Linked DNA regions of Homo sapiens: region 1 is linked to region 2. Evidence: promoter capture Hi-C in 16 types of primary human blood cells and fetal thymus (Javierre and others, 2016). All regions are on one chromosome and are shown on one strand. The core of a region is centred on a gene start or on the middle of the fragment in contact, and the rest is flanking DNA. Distances in the headings are between cores, read along the strand shown.

Region 1 (6,541 bases), core at 1,175-3,674, 66 kb before region 2:
CCTACAGGAATGCCCAGAGCTCTGTTCCACAGGATGCACAGGATTTGTTTCACAGCTGGGTTTGTGGTGATTTATTACACAGTGATAAAAAACAGACACAATGACAGAGAGCAAATGGCCTGCAAAGACAGATGTGTTTGCAACTCAGCCCTTGTAGAAAACAACCACAACAACAAGCCCTAAGTTAGGTTTCTCAGTCTTGGCATTGTGGGCATTTGGGGCCAGGCTGTTAGTTTTCTATGGTGTGGAACAAATTGCCACAAACTTAGTGGCTTAGAACAACACATGTTTCTTATCTCACAGTTTTTGTGGGTAGAAGCCTGGGGCACAACTTAGCTGGGTTCTCTACCTCAGGATCCCATGGTGTCAGCTGGGGCTGCATTCTCATCTGAAGGTCCAACTGGGACAGGGCCTGCTTTGCATTCACTTAGCTTGTTGGTAGAATTCAGGTCCTTGTGGTTGTAGCACTGAGGTCCTCACTTCCTGCAGGCCACCCATAGTTCCCAGTCTTGTGGGCCCCTCAAAGGCAGTTCACACATGGCTCTTGCTTCTTCAAGGCCAGCAGGAGACAGAGAGAGTGACTCCAGAATATTATATACTATAATATAATCCCAGGTGTGACATCTACCACCTTTGCCATATTCTGTTGGTTAACACTTTCAAGGAGAGGGGACAACACAGAAGCACAGCCAACAGGAAGCAGAAATCACTGTGGTTCACCTTAGGGTCTTTCTAACCCAGCCAGATAATGTTTGCTGTGGGGCTGTCCTGTGCACTTTAGGATATTTGTCAGCATCCCTGATCCCTACAGCAACTCTCAGTTACAACAATCAAAAATACCTGTAGATATTGCCAGAGGGGCAAAACTGCCCCCAGTTGAGGACCACTGCCCTAGATCCATCATTTCATTAGGGGTTGCAAAATTGCAATTTTCTAAACTTGGTATTTCTTCAGCATTTATTTGCAAGAGTTCTTCTAAAGATACACTTTCCCACATCAAATATTTGGTACAGGGAAGGCAGAGAAAAATATTGATTATTTTAAATATATATTATTGTGAAATCATAAATTGAAGTATATTACTTAAATGTACTGTATTGAATGTGTGCAGTAATTCTCAATGGCTGTGGAACAAATTGCCACAAACATAAAGCTCCCATTTAGTATATGCACTTCTGTATGCCAGATGTCCTGGTATAGCTTAGCCAGATTCCTCACTCAGGGTCTCACTAGCTTGAGATCAAGCTGTCAGCCAGGCTGTGTTCTCATCTGGAGACCCAACTAGGGAGGGAGCAGCTTCCAGGCTCATTTAGGTTTTGGCAGAACTTATTTCCATGAAGTTGCAGAATTCATGGCAGCTTCCTCCTTCAAAGCCAGCAACAGAGAGAGAGGGTCTCTGCCCCTTCGAGTCTCTAACTTCAGAGAAGCCCTAGACTCTCTTACAAAGGGCTTGCCTGTTAAGTCAGGACCACTGAGAAAAATCTCCTTTTGATTAACTCAAAGTCAACTGGTTAGGAACTTAATTATATCTGCAAAGTCTCTTCACTTTTGCTTTAATCTCTCAGTCAAAGAAAAATCACAGATTCTGCCCTGCCTCAGGGCAGGGGATTAAATAAGGCCATTACTCACTGGAGGCCGCATTAGGGTGTGCCTGACACAATGCCCTTCCATTCATTGAACTTATTGTCTTTACTGGTGACCATGTGGTCCCACATTTGGTCAATGGGGATACATTTAAGTTGACTGGTATGTCATCTTGAAATGACCTCAGTAGTCTTTGATTGTTTCTTAGCTTTCTGATGCAATGAGAAGTTCCAGGTTTATCTTATGTCATGGCTATGTCATGGCTCAGCCCAGAACCAGTCATTTCTCCAAGGGTTCACGGTTCTTTTTGAAGGGAGTTTGGTGGGTATTTAGAGGTCCCACTTTGGGTGCCAGGGTGCTCATTGCTACTAGTCTATTTTCATTGTTTCTAAGCTTTTACTGTGGACAGAATTAGGCAAGACCTATTTTTCCAGTTTTTGTATGGTGGTAAAATATGTGTAACAAAATTTACCATCTTCTAAGTGCACAGTTCCGTGGCATTCAGTACATTCGCGCTGCTGTCATCCCACTATCCAGCTCCAGAATGCCTTTTGTCTCGAAAAGCAGCAGCTCTGCTCCCATTAAATCCAACTCCCCCTCCACCTCCCCCAGCCCCTGGCACTCGCCATCCTACTTTCTGTCACTATAAATTTGACTACTCTAGGGACCTCATACAAATAGAATCATACAGTATTTGTCTTTTCTTTTTTCTTTTTTTGACTGGCTTAGGAAATAACTTTTTTTTGTTTTGTTTTTTTAAGATAAAGTCTTGCTCTGTCACCCAGGCTGGAGTGCAGTGGCATGATCCCAGCTCACTACAACCTCCACCTCCTGGGTTCAAGCAATTCTCCTGCCTCAGCCTCCTGAGTAGCTGGGATTACAGGCATGCACCACCATGCCCAACTAATGTTTGTATTTTTAGTAGAGACAGAGTTTCACCATGTTGGCCAGGCTAGTCTTGAACCCCTGACCTCAAGTGATCCACCCGCCTAGGCGTCTCAAAGTGCTGGGATTACAGGAGTGAGCCACTGTGGCCCAGCTGGAAATATATATTTTTAAAGGTAAATATATCATGGAATCATACTGATATTTCTAATTTACCTACAGGATTTTAAGTTTCTTTCTTGACTTCTTGGAGTGCATACGTTTATCTGAACCGTTTTATGACTGTGAACTGTTTTATGTGAACTGTTTTATGACTGAAAAAACTACAGGGCACAGGCAGGTTGCTCAGCATCCTGGTTGCTGTCTCTTTCAGGTGCCCCTTGCCCCTTTTTGCAAGCTTTATTTTTATTTTTTTGAGACAGAGTCTTGCTGTATTGCCCAGGCTGGAGTGCAGTGGTGTGATCTCGGCTCACTGCAACCTCCGCCTCCTGGGTTCAAGTCGTTCTCCTGCCTCAGCCTCCTGAGTAGGTGGGGCTGCAGGCGCCCACCACCTCACCTGGCTAATTTTTGTATTTTTAGTAGAGACGGGATTTCGCCATGTTGCCCAGGCTGGTCTCAAACTCCTAGCCTCATGTGATCTGCCCGCCTCATCCTCCCGAAGTGCTGGGATTACAGGCATGAGCCATGGCGCCCGGTCTCTTTTTGCAAGCTTTGATTGACAGTTCCATCTTTTAAAAGATATTTATTCACACCCCAAAACCTTTCTTAGTAAACGACAGTGTGTTAATCCCCATCTGGTCTGCCCCATGTTGAGTGCCCCAGACACGGGTCTGGGAGACCAGCCACAGCTTTGCCCAGAGCCTCTCACCCACTGTCAGCCACAGAGGCTCCCCAGCGTGGACACCCCTTGGTTTGTCCAACCAGACCCACTCCAACAGGTGGGTCACCTGCGCCATTTGCTCTTACATGGGGTGCCCCATGCATGGCCAACACAGCCACCGTTTGTAGGTTTTGAGGCAGTTTGGGTGGCCCCAGCTGACATCAAGTGGTCCTGGATGACACCTGTGTTCTTAGCCAGCCTAGAGCTCCTGCCTCAGCTGCCTTCATCCCGGGAATGCGTGGCAAGGCAGCTCTGTGGGCTGCTGTCTTCTGGTGCATTCTCCCTGAGTTTATCCAGAAGTTAGTCCCATTCCTGGGCCCACTACAATGTGGGTTAAGCCCTCATGACTCTGAGATCTCCTCATTCCCGAGGAACATGCTAGCACTTCTTGCAGCTCCACATCTCCCCACCTTGTCATCCTGGAGTATTCTCAGAAAGGCCAGAAGTTGTCACCCCTTCTAGGGGACTCACACGTGAGCCCAGCCCCTGTCCGTTTATGGAAGGAGACACCCCTGCTCCCATGGGGCCCTTCTCCTGGGGAAGGGAGGGAAAGAGCTTGGTGTTTGGGCCTGTATCTGGCCTTTCTCCCGGGAAGGCCCTGGACGTGATGCCCAGAGCGCCCAGCCACCCAGCAGGCTCCTGGCCGCCCATGCCCCAGGCCCAGCCTCCTAGGGCCGTAGCCTCCCCAGGGCCTCAGTGCCCCACCACCACCGGGAAATTCCAGTGGAATCATCACAGAGCCCTGGGGATGGTTAAGGCTCTCTGGTTGCAATAACACAAACTGAAGCTGGCGAACTTAAGCCAGGAAGAAAAGAGGGCATTTATTGGAAGGAGGGGCAGCCGTCAGACCAGAAGAAAGAACCAAAGAGCCCATTCAGGCTTCCTGGTCCGGGAGCCCATGAGCAGTCCCTGGAATGACACGGTCTTCCTTCTCGGGGAGCATGGCCACAGCCACCAGTTGATGGACAGGCCCACCAAGCTGCCCCTCCATGGAGGAAGGGTGGTTCCTTGCAGGGGAGGGGACACAGGCAAGGCCCAGGCCCAGAGCCTTCTGCAAGGGGAGGATTTCTTGTTTGTCCTAACACAGTGCCACTCAGGCTCGCCATGCACCATGGCCTGGCCCCGTTCAACATCAGCATCTCTTCCCTGCAGGCTCCTCTTTGGGACACACTGGCGCTGCCGTCGGGGGTCGGGTGCTGCCCAAGGACCTGAGATCCTATTCCATTCCTGACTCCCCCGGAGCTTGCAGCCTCCAGGAGACGGGTCTGATCTCACTTTCAAATCAAAGTCTTTCTGCATGAGGTCTGGTCATAGAGAAGGCGGCCCCTGTGGGCCCCCGGTTTGGGGACACAGAAATCCTTTCACTTCTGCAACCTCCCAAATGCGCTTTGAGCAGTTGTGTTATGGGCTAAATTGTGTCCTCTCAAAATTCACATGTTGCAATCCTAGTTCTCGGTGCCTAACGATGTGATTGTAGCTCGAGATGGGATCTTCTTTTTGTTTTTTTTTGAGACAGAGTCTCACTCTGTCACCCAGGCTGAAGTGCAGTGGCACAATCTCGGCTCACTGCAACCTATGCCTCCCGGGTGGGTTCAAGTGATTATCCTGCCTCAGCCTCCCAAAGTGGCTGAGATTACAGGTGTGTGCCACCACGCCTGGCTAAATTTTTTATATTTTTAATAGAGATGGGGTTTCACCATGTTAGTCAGGCTGTTTGAGATGGAATCTTTAAAGTGGCAATTAAGTTAAAATGAGGTCTCCAGGGAAAGCCCTAATTCAGTGTGGCTGTGTCCCTACAAGAAGGAGAGGTAAGGACAAACACACACCGAGGGACGGCTCTGAGGGCACACAGGGAGAAGGCAGCGTCTGCAAGCCATGGAGAGCGGCCTGGGAAGAAACAGCCCTGCCACAGGTTGATCTCAGACTCCAGCCTCCGGGACTGAGAGACAACAGATTCTCGCTGTTCGAGCTGTGCCACAGTAGTCACCCCTCATTGTGGGTTCAGTTACCGATGGCCAAGTATGGTCTGAAAACATTAAATGGAAAATTCCAGAAAGATGCAATTCATAAGGTTTTTTTTTTTGTTTGTTTGTTTGTTTTTTGTTTTTTGTTTTTGACAATGTCTTTCTCTGTGGCCTGGGCTGGAGTGCAGTGGTGCGGTCTTGGCTCACTGCAACCTCTGCCTCCTGGGTTCAAGCAATTCTCCTGCCTCAGCCTCCTGAGTAGCTAGGATTACAGGCACCCACCACCACGCCTGGCTGATTTTTGTATTTTTAGTAGAGATAGGGTTTCATCATGTTGCCCAGGCTGGTCTCGAACTCCTGACCTCAGGTGATCCACCTGCCTTGGCCTCCCAAAGTGCTGGGGTTACAGGCATGAGCCACCAGGCCCCGCCTTGTAAGTTCCAAATTGTGCAGTGTTCTGAGTAGCACGAGGAGCTCTCGTGCCCTGCGGGCTCCATCCCTTTTGCCTCACAGGAAGAAGGGTGAGCGCAACATAGGCCACATCTCGTAACTTTGTTGCAGTATACTCTTACAATTGTTCTCTTTTACTGTCGGTTATTGTGAATCTCTTACTGTGCCTAATTTATAAATTAAACTTTAACACAGGTGTGTATATAGAGGGTTCAGGGCTGTCTGCCGTCCCCAGTGTCCAGCATCCACTGGGGGGGTCCTGGAACGTGTCCCCCGGGGAAACGGACCCCTTGCTTTGTTATGGCTGGGGGGCTGTCTCACATGAGCCATTGCACGGGGAATATTGTCATGTATCTCTTTAATGTAACTCTGAGTCTTATCTTCAAGAAATTAGATAAACCAAATCTGGCATAAAACTTGAAATTATGAAAAAGAATCAAATGGAAATTCTAGAATTAAAAAATAGAAAAACCTCGGTGGTGGCGGAAACGGACCTGCTAGCAAGTGGGTGCCCCTTGAAAGAGAATTCGTGAACTGGAAGGAAGACAAAAGCATGCGGGAGGCAGAACCGGCAGGCGCGATGGGTGAGGCGGGATGCAGGAGAGCGTCTAGCAGGTGGTGGAGCCTTAGAGAGAGAATGGAACGGAGATGAGAAGTGGACGTGATCACTGCCGAAAGGAGCCCCAGCCATGGTCTAAAGAAGCATGAGAAACTCCAAACCCCATCTCTACTGAACATACAAAAAATCAGCTGGTGTGGTGGCGGGCGCCTGTCATCC
Region 2 (6,681 bases), core at 1,937-4,436:
CACGCCCCAGGTGAGCGGGCGGTGAGGGGGCGCACGCTCCAGGTGAGCGGGCAACAGGTGGGGGGGCGGGTGGTGCTAGGCCTGGGTACTGACCACCAGGGCCGTCCCAGGTGTCGCAGGCCGGGAAGACCCTCTGCCTGAGCGGCTTCATGGGCATGGACATCCCGCCACCCAGCGGGCCACTCTGGATCCTGGGCGACGTCTTCATCGGCCGCTACTACACTGTGTTTGACCGTGACAACAACAGGGTGGGCTTCGCCGAGGCTGCCCGCCTCTAGTTCCCAAGGCGTCCGCGCGCCAGCACAGAAACAGAGGAGAGTCCCAGAGCAGGAGGCCCCTGGCCCAGCGGCCCCTCCCACACACACCCACACACTCGCCCGCCCACTGTCCTGGGCGCCCTGGAAGCCGGCGGCCCAAGCCCGACTTGCTGTTTTGTTCTGTGGTTTTCCCCTCCCTGGGTTCAGAAATGCTGCCTGCCTGTCTGTCTCTCCATCTGTTTGGTGGGGGTAGAGCTGATCCAGAGCACAGATCTGTTTCGTGCATTGGAAGACCCCACCCAAGCTTGGCAGCCGAGCTCGTGTATCCTGGGGCTCCCTTCATCTCCAGGGAGTCCCCTCCCCGGCCCTACCAGCGCCCGCTGGGCTGAGCCCCTACCCCACACCAGGCCGTCCTCCCGGGCCCTCCCTTGGAAACCTGCCCTGCCTGAGGGCCCCTCTGCCCAGCTTGGGCCCAGCTGGGCTCTGCCACCCTACCTGTTCAGTGTCCCGGGCCCGTTGAGGATGAGGCCGCTAGAGGCCTGAGGATGAGCTGGAAGGAGTGAGAGGGGACAAAACCCACCTTGTTGGAGCCTGCAGGGTGGTGCTGGGACTGAGCCAGTCCCAGGGGCATGTATTGGCCTGGAGGTGGGGTTGGGATTGGGGGCTGGTGCCAGCCTTCCTCTGCAGCTGACCTCTGTTGTCCTCCCCTTGGGCGGCTGAGAGCCCCAGCTGACATGGAAATACAGTTGTTGGCCTCCGGCCTCCCCTCTGTGCTGGTGTGCTCTTGTGCCTGGTCAGGGGTGGCTCCAACTTGGGATGGGGAAGGAGGGTGGGTAGTGCGAAGCCAGCACGGCAGCTGACTCGGCAGCACCGGGACAAGCATTTGGGGTGCCCCGGGCCTATGGCCCCCTGCCCTGCCCTGCCCAGCCCATGGGCTCCAGCCTGGTCGGCCAGCGGGGACTGACTTGTTCCCAGGTCTGGAGCAGTAGCCGGCAGGATGTGGCCTTGGCTGGGGTTTCAGGGTGTCTAGTGTGAGTGCCAGCCTTGAGGAGTGATTTCAGGGAGGTGGCCCAGCCAGGCAGCCACGGCACTCGAACAGAGGCTATTTCTGCTCTCGGGGACCCTCAGAGCAGGCCTACCAGTCACCCTCCTCAGCCCTCTTGTCCCGGGAAATAAATGGCCCCAGGTGGCGTGGGGGGGCTGGCCTAGCTGGGCCTTCTTGCCTCCCAGGCCCTAGAAGCGGTTTTGTGTGCAGTGAGCTGAGCTGGCACCAAGCAAGCCTGCCCAGGGTCCCTGGTTGCAGGGATTGGACTCAGAAGTCCCCTCCAGCCACAGCTGCCACAGTCACGGATCCCCGGGCTGATAACGCGGTGCGCTTGTTCCGCTGGGAGGGGAGGGGTTGGGAGCGTGTGCCCGGATGCAGTGGTAGCAGCCCCTGGGGTTCTAATAGGTAAGTAGGAGTTTGTGGGCATGTGGTGGTGGGAGCAGAGTTCCTTTTGGGATCAGTAGCTCTGGAGTCACTTAGAGCCCCCTCGAGCCCCACCCCAACAGGTTAGAAGATGAGGCAGATGTGACATTTGCCATTATCTTGATGCCTCTGCCTGAGGGTGGTGGCTGCCTTGGCCTTCCTCCCAAGGGGCTGCAGGGCTTTCACCCCAGAGCCATGCTACGGCAGACACCTGGAGCAAGAACATTTACCCAGGGTGGCACGGAGGCTTGGAAACACATGCCTGGCGTTTGGCATGCCTGAAATCTGAGCAGAGCTGGGCAGAACTCTGCAGGGCCTGGCAGGGCTTCTGGGGAGACAAATGTCCTGTCATCAGATGCTTTGTGCACTGAGGCCTGGGAGGGCAGAGAGGTACAAGGAGGCAGCCATACCCTGTTGTCCCTGCCCTGTCCCACTCTCCCCATCTCCCTCCTTCTGCAGCTTGTCAGCTCCGTCCAGCTCCCATCTTCATGGCTGCTGCCCTGGGGTTGCTCCGAGGGCTCCCTCCAGCCCGGCAGGATTCTCGGGGCCCTGGAGTCTGACCCCGGGTTCCTCCGTGGTTTTCTAGCTGGTGACTGGACCCTGAGCCTGGAGTCCCCCCCTGTCTAGACTGTGGGTTGTAACCAGAAACCCCTAGCAAAGGGGAAGCTGGAGCCCAGGCCCTTGGGGAGCCCACCAACAGTCACATGAATGCTGGCTGTGCCAAGTTTGGCTCGGCCCTGGCTCTGCCCTGCGACCCCTGGCTCCCTCTCAGTGGTGTTTCCTGGCCTCAGAGGCAGCCCCAAGGTGGCCTGAGGCCGGGAGCAGGCCCTGGCTCCCCTGTCACCTACCCAGTGACCCTGGGCAGGCCCTGGACCCTCGGGCCCAGGCAACCCTCTCCTGCTATGGAGGCCTCCTCACTGCCTGAGGCCTTCAGGGCAAACTGGGGTGGGGCAGCACTGGGCAGAGGCTGTGTGGCAGGCCAGGGTCTCCCAGAAGGTGGTGGCTGGCCGGGTAAGCCCAGCTCAGATGCTGGGGAGACATGGGGGCATGGCACACAGGCCACACTCAGCCTGGGATCAGGCCCCGTCTGAGGACACCGGGTCCAGTTTTCCCTGGGCCAGGCCCTTGGAAAGGAGGAGGGAGTTGGGGAGGGAGAACGGAACCCTGGTTCTCCGACAGGCCCCATCCACCCACGGCCTGTGGGCTCCAGGGAGAGCATGGCCAGGGTGCCCAAGGAGACGAGGAGGAGGCTCCTCATGCTTCATGACCCCTCCTGCTCGTTAGGGTTTATCAACATCATTTAAGATCAGCCTTGTGCTGTGGGTTCCTGGCGTGCTGTGGATAACACTGTGCCCGGGTCAGCCCAGGCATGAGGGGCGGGGACTAGGCTGGAAAGAGGAGGGGCTTGCAGAGGGCTGGGCTTTTCCAGGGGATTAGGGTTCAGAACAGAGGTTTGGGGAGAGAAAGGGTTCAGAGTCAGGCACAGGCAGGCAGACAGGACCCCAAGCAGGACTGGCCTTCCAGACAGGAAAGAGGGTTGCGGAGACACAGGAGGCCAGTTGAGAGTGGCAGAGGAGAAAGGAGTTTCATGGGAGGATGGGGCTTGGAGAGAGATGAGGGAGGGAAAACGGGGGCCGCCATGCATCCTCAGCTTCCGGGGGACTTTGGAGAGGGTCGAGGCTCAGTGGGAGCTGGAGGTTGGTGAAGAGGACCCAGCTCAGGGAACCTGCGTGGTGAAGTGGGGGACTTGGAGGGAGGGAGGGAAGGCTGGAGTTTTCTCCATGGGGAGGAACTCATGGGGACTGTTATGGGGATGGAAGATCAGCTGGCGTCAAGCATACCGTGAGAGTGAGGATGTGGTGGGGTAGCGGAGGCGGCTGAGGCTGGGAGGACAGGCATTGGTCAGGAAAAATGATTCACAGGGAACAAAGTATCCTCAGGGGACCAGGCTCAGAAGGGCTGGTAGGGATCACAGAGAGGCTGTGGGCAGGTGAGTAAACCAGCCTCCAGGGAGACAAGTGTCCTTAGCAGCCAGGACCTCAGCACAGGACCAGAGCTCGGAACGGGACACTTTGCCCTGCGAGCAGATGGAGCATGACCTGGGGTCTGCGCAGGAGAGGCCACATTCTCCCAGACTCTGGGAGTGAACTGGAGTGGGGCCCCGGCTGGGTGAAGTCAGACTCCAGGAAAGGGGGCAGGAGCTCCGATGGGCAGGAGTGGGCTCAGCCAGGAAGGAACAGAGTAGGGGGTGCTGAAACTTACCGGAAGGCCTGGACTTGGTGGGCTAAGGAGGGAAGGGACTGGAGGGTGGTCTTGGGGGCCTTGTGGACTTGGTTAGGGACAGGATGGGGCAGAGACGGGCAGTCAGGTAGGGGGCCTGCTGGGGCTCAGGGGACTGGAGCTTCGTCAGGAGGGGACTGAGCTGCTGGAACTGAGAGTCAACAGGCCAGAAGGGCAGGACCCAGGGGCGGGGGTCCCTGGAGGCAGCAGGGCCCAGGCGCTGGGGTGGAGCGCCATGGGGAGAGTGGGAAGAGGAAGAGGGTCTCTCTTGGGGAGGCAGATGGGGAGGGTTCCGGGAGCGTCCAGTCTTCCACGGGGCTGGGGGCTCCGCGAGAGGGATGGGGCCGGGTGGGGTGGGGAGGAAGACGCAGTGGGTCCGGGGAGATGGAGGTGGCGCGGACACCCTGGTCGGGGGCTGTAGGGGTCCCATCCCTGCGGGACCTTGCAACTCCCCAGGGTCGCGGCTTCCGAGGCCCCCACCCTCCTGGCAGGAGGAGGCGGAGGCGGGGAGGTGGCTGTGCCCGCTGCCGCCGTGAGTCAGGCTCTGGGCTGCAGCCGCGCGGCCGGTCTGGCGCTGCGGAGGGAGCGCAGGCGGCGGGGGAGGCAGCGGCGCCGCCGCCGAGCCCCGCGCGCTCCCCACCCCCTCAAGGTTGGGCCGCTGGGAGGCGGATCAGTGGACAGACAGCGGCCCGCGGGACGGCGGAAGGACGCGCGCACCGAGGCTCAGGGGGTCCGGCCGCGCGCCGAGGAGTCGCTTGTAGGTGAGGAGGCGCCGTCCGGGGGGCTGCGGCAGACCCGGATGGGGCTGGGGGCTGCAGAGCCTCGGCCGCAGACCCCCCGGCGAGCGCCGCACGGGAGCTGGGAACGCGGGGTGGCGCAGAGCGCGAGCGACTTGGTGCCTCGTTGGAGAAGTGTTCATTTCACAGCCTGTTATTGTGCGTCTATGTATGGCCCGGGGGTGCGTGGCTCCGGGCAAGTGTGCGCGCTTGGGGTCCCCAGGTTGGAGGTGGGGGGCGGTGCGCACGAGTTGGAGACCCCGCACCTGTGCCGGTTCTTGGTGCTCGTGGCTGAGCCTGCATCGCCTTGTGTGGGGAGTTGTTTACTCGTCAATGGCTCTGAGCGCGCCCGCGGGTGCGCCCCGGGGTCTGGAGAGCCCGCGGTGCAGCCCGCGGTGGAGCCCGTGGCGGTGCCCGTGGCGGTATCGGGTGTCCGCGGGCGCCGTGGGCAGGTGCTTTGGCCGCTCTGCTAGCTCTGCCGGTTGGCGGCTGAGGCAGCGTCGCTGTGGGTCCGGCGCCCCGTGTGTGCGGGGTTGTTTGGGGTGCTGGGGCACTCTGTGTTTTGCAACAGTGTCAGTCTCAGCGTTGGTGTGCTTCGGGGCGGGGGGTGCTGTTGTGTGTGTCAGTGGGTGAGTGTTTATGCGCAGATGGCGAAGTGATGAAAGCCCCAGGTCCCTGCCAAGGCTGCTGCGAAGGGCTTTGGCATCGTCCGTGGCCGCCGAGGCCCGGGGCGGGTGGGGGAGGCAGGTGGCAGGCTGGCAGCTGGCGGCCCCCGCAGGGATTTCCGTCTCCACTGGGGCTGTTCTCGGAGCTGCTGGGCGTGAGGGTGGGTGCTGGCCGGTAGGCCGGGCCCAGCTTGCTCTCACTTTCTCCTCTCCAGGCCCAGGGCCCCGGCCAGTGCCCAGCCCCGCTGGGAGACCCGGCCAGCACCACGGACGGCGCCCAGGAAGCCCGAGTCCCCCTGGACGGGGCCTTCTGGATTCCGAGGCCCCCGGCAGGTTCGCCCAAGGGCTGCTTCGCTTGCGTGTCCAAGCCCCCTGCCCTGCAGGCTCCGGCGGCCCCTGCCCCTGAGCCCTCGGCCTCTCCCCCGATGGCGCCCACACTGTTCCCCATGGAGTCCAAGAGCAGCAAGACCGACAGCGTGCGGGCTGCCGGCGCGCCCCCTGCCTGCAAGCACCTAGCCGAGAAGAAGACGATGACCAACCCCACGACCGTCATCGAGGTCTACCCGGACACCACCGAGGTGAACGACTATTACCTGTGGTCCATCTTCAACTTCGTCTACCTCAACTTCTGCTGCCTGGGCTTCATCGCCTTGGCCTACTCCCTCAAAGTGAGCCCGGGCGGTGGCAGGGGGCAAGGGCGGGCTAGAGAGGTGGTGCCGGCAGGACAGTCCCTGGCTGTGGGCGCTCGGCCCCTCTCCCTCTCAGGGGAGCACACGGGTAGAACAGGTGCAGTTGAGGGGCCAAGGGATCAAAGGACAGTGAGGGGTCCTGATGGTGGGTCCCAGAGAGGTCGGGGTACTGGCTAGGTCTGGGCGGGCAGGGGTCTGCCCTTCCCTCTCCTGAGCCATCAGGGCCTGGCTTTCTGCTCAGCCAGCTCAGCGGAACCTGCAGGAGGGGCTGGGAGCGGGGGTTGAGGGGGGCGGGGTTGCTCAGGCTCAGGGGACATGGGACGTAGACCTGGGCAGCAGCCACTTCTCCGTGTGCAGGGATGGGGCCAGCGTGGGGCTGAAGAGGGCTTGGAATCCTACCCCTATGGAAAGGAAGAGGGGCCACCTTCTTATCCAGCTCCTCACCCGGAGCCCAAGGGCAGGTGCTTACACAGCTCTGCCAAGCCCTGCGTGGAGACCAGACCTGGGTGGCCAGGGCAGCCCAGGGAAGAGGGGTGTAAACAGGTC

Evidence for each region. Contacts are between HindIII fragments. The CHiCAGO score rates a contact against its expected background, and 5 or more counts as called.
Region 1: a contact is called between a fragment that was not itself captured here and the fragment with the promoter of IFITM10 in region 2, in 1 of 17 cell types (monocytes). The highest score is 5.1, in monocytes.

What each region holds. Positions count from the first base shown.
Region 1 is chr11:1,812,817-1,819,357 of GRCh38, reverse strand. No RefSeq gene overlaps it. Among named protein-coding and RNA genes, the nearest start is that of SYT8, 19 kb to the left of the region's middle. The HindIII fragment of the contact is 889 bases long and covers 1,980-2,868 here.
Region 2 is chr11:1,747,100-1,753,780 of GRCh38, reverse strand. It overlaps IFITM10 (interferon induced transmembrane protein 10), which reads left to right and starts at 3,186. Exons shown (of 3, transcript NM_001170820.4): 1 at 3,186-3,422; 2 at 5,662-6,114. The coding sequence starts at 3,339. CTSD (cathepsin D) reads left to right here. Exons shown (of 9, transcript NM_001909.5): 9 at 111-1,026. The coding sequence ends at 278. RefSeq lists enhancers at 3,375-4,130, 4,131-4,886. The HindIII fragment of the contact is 9,148 bases long and covers 564-6,681 here.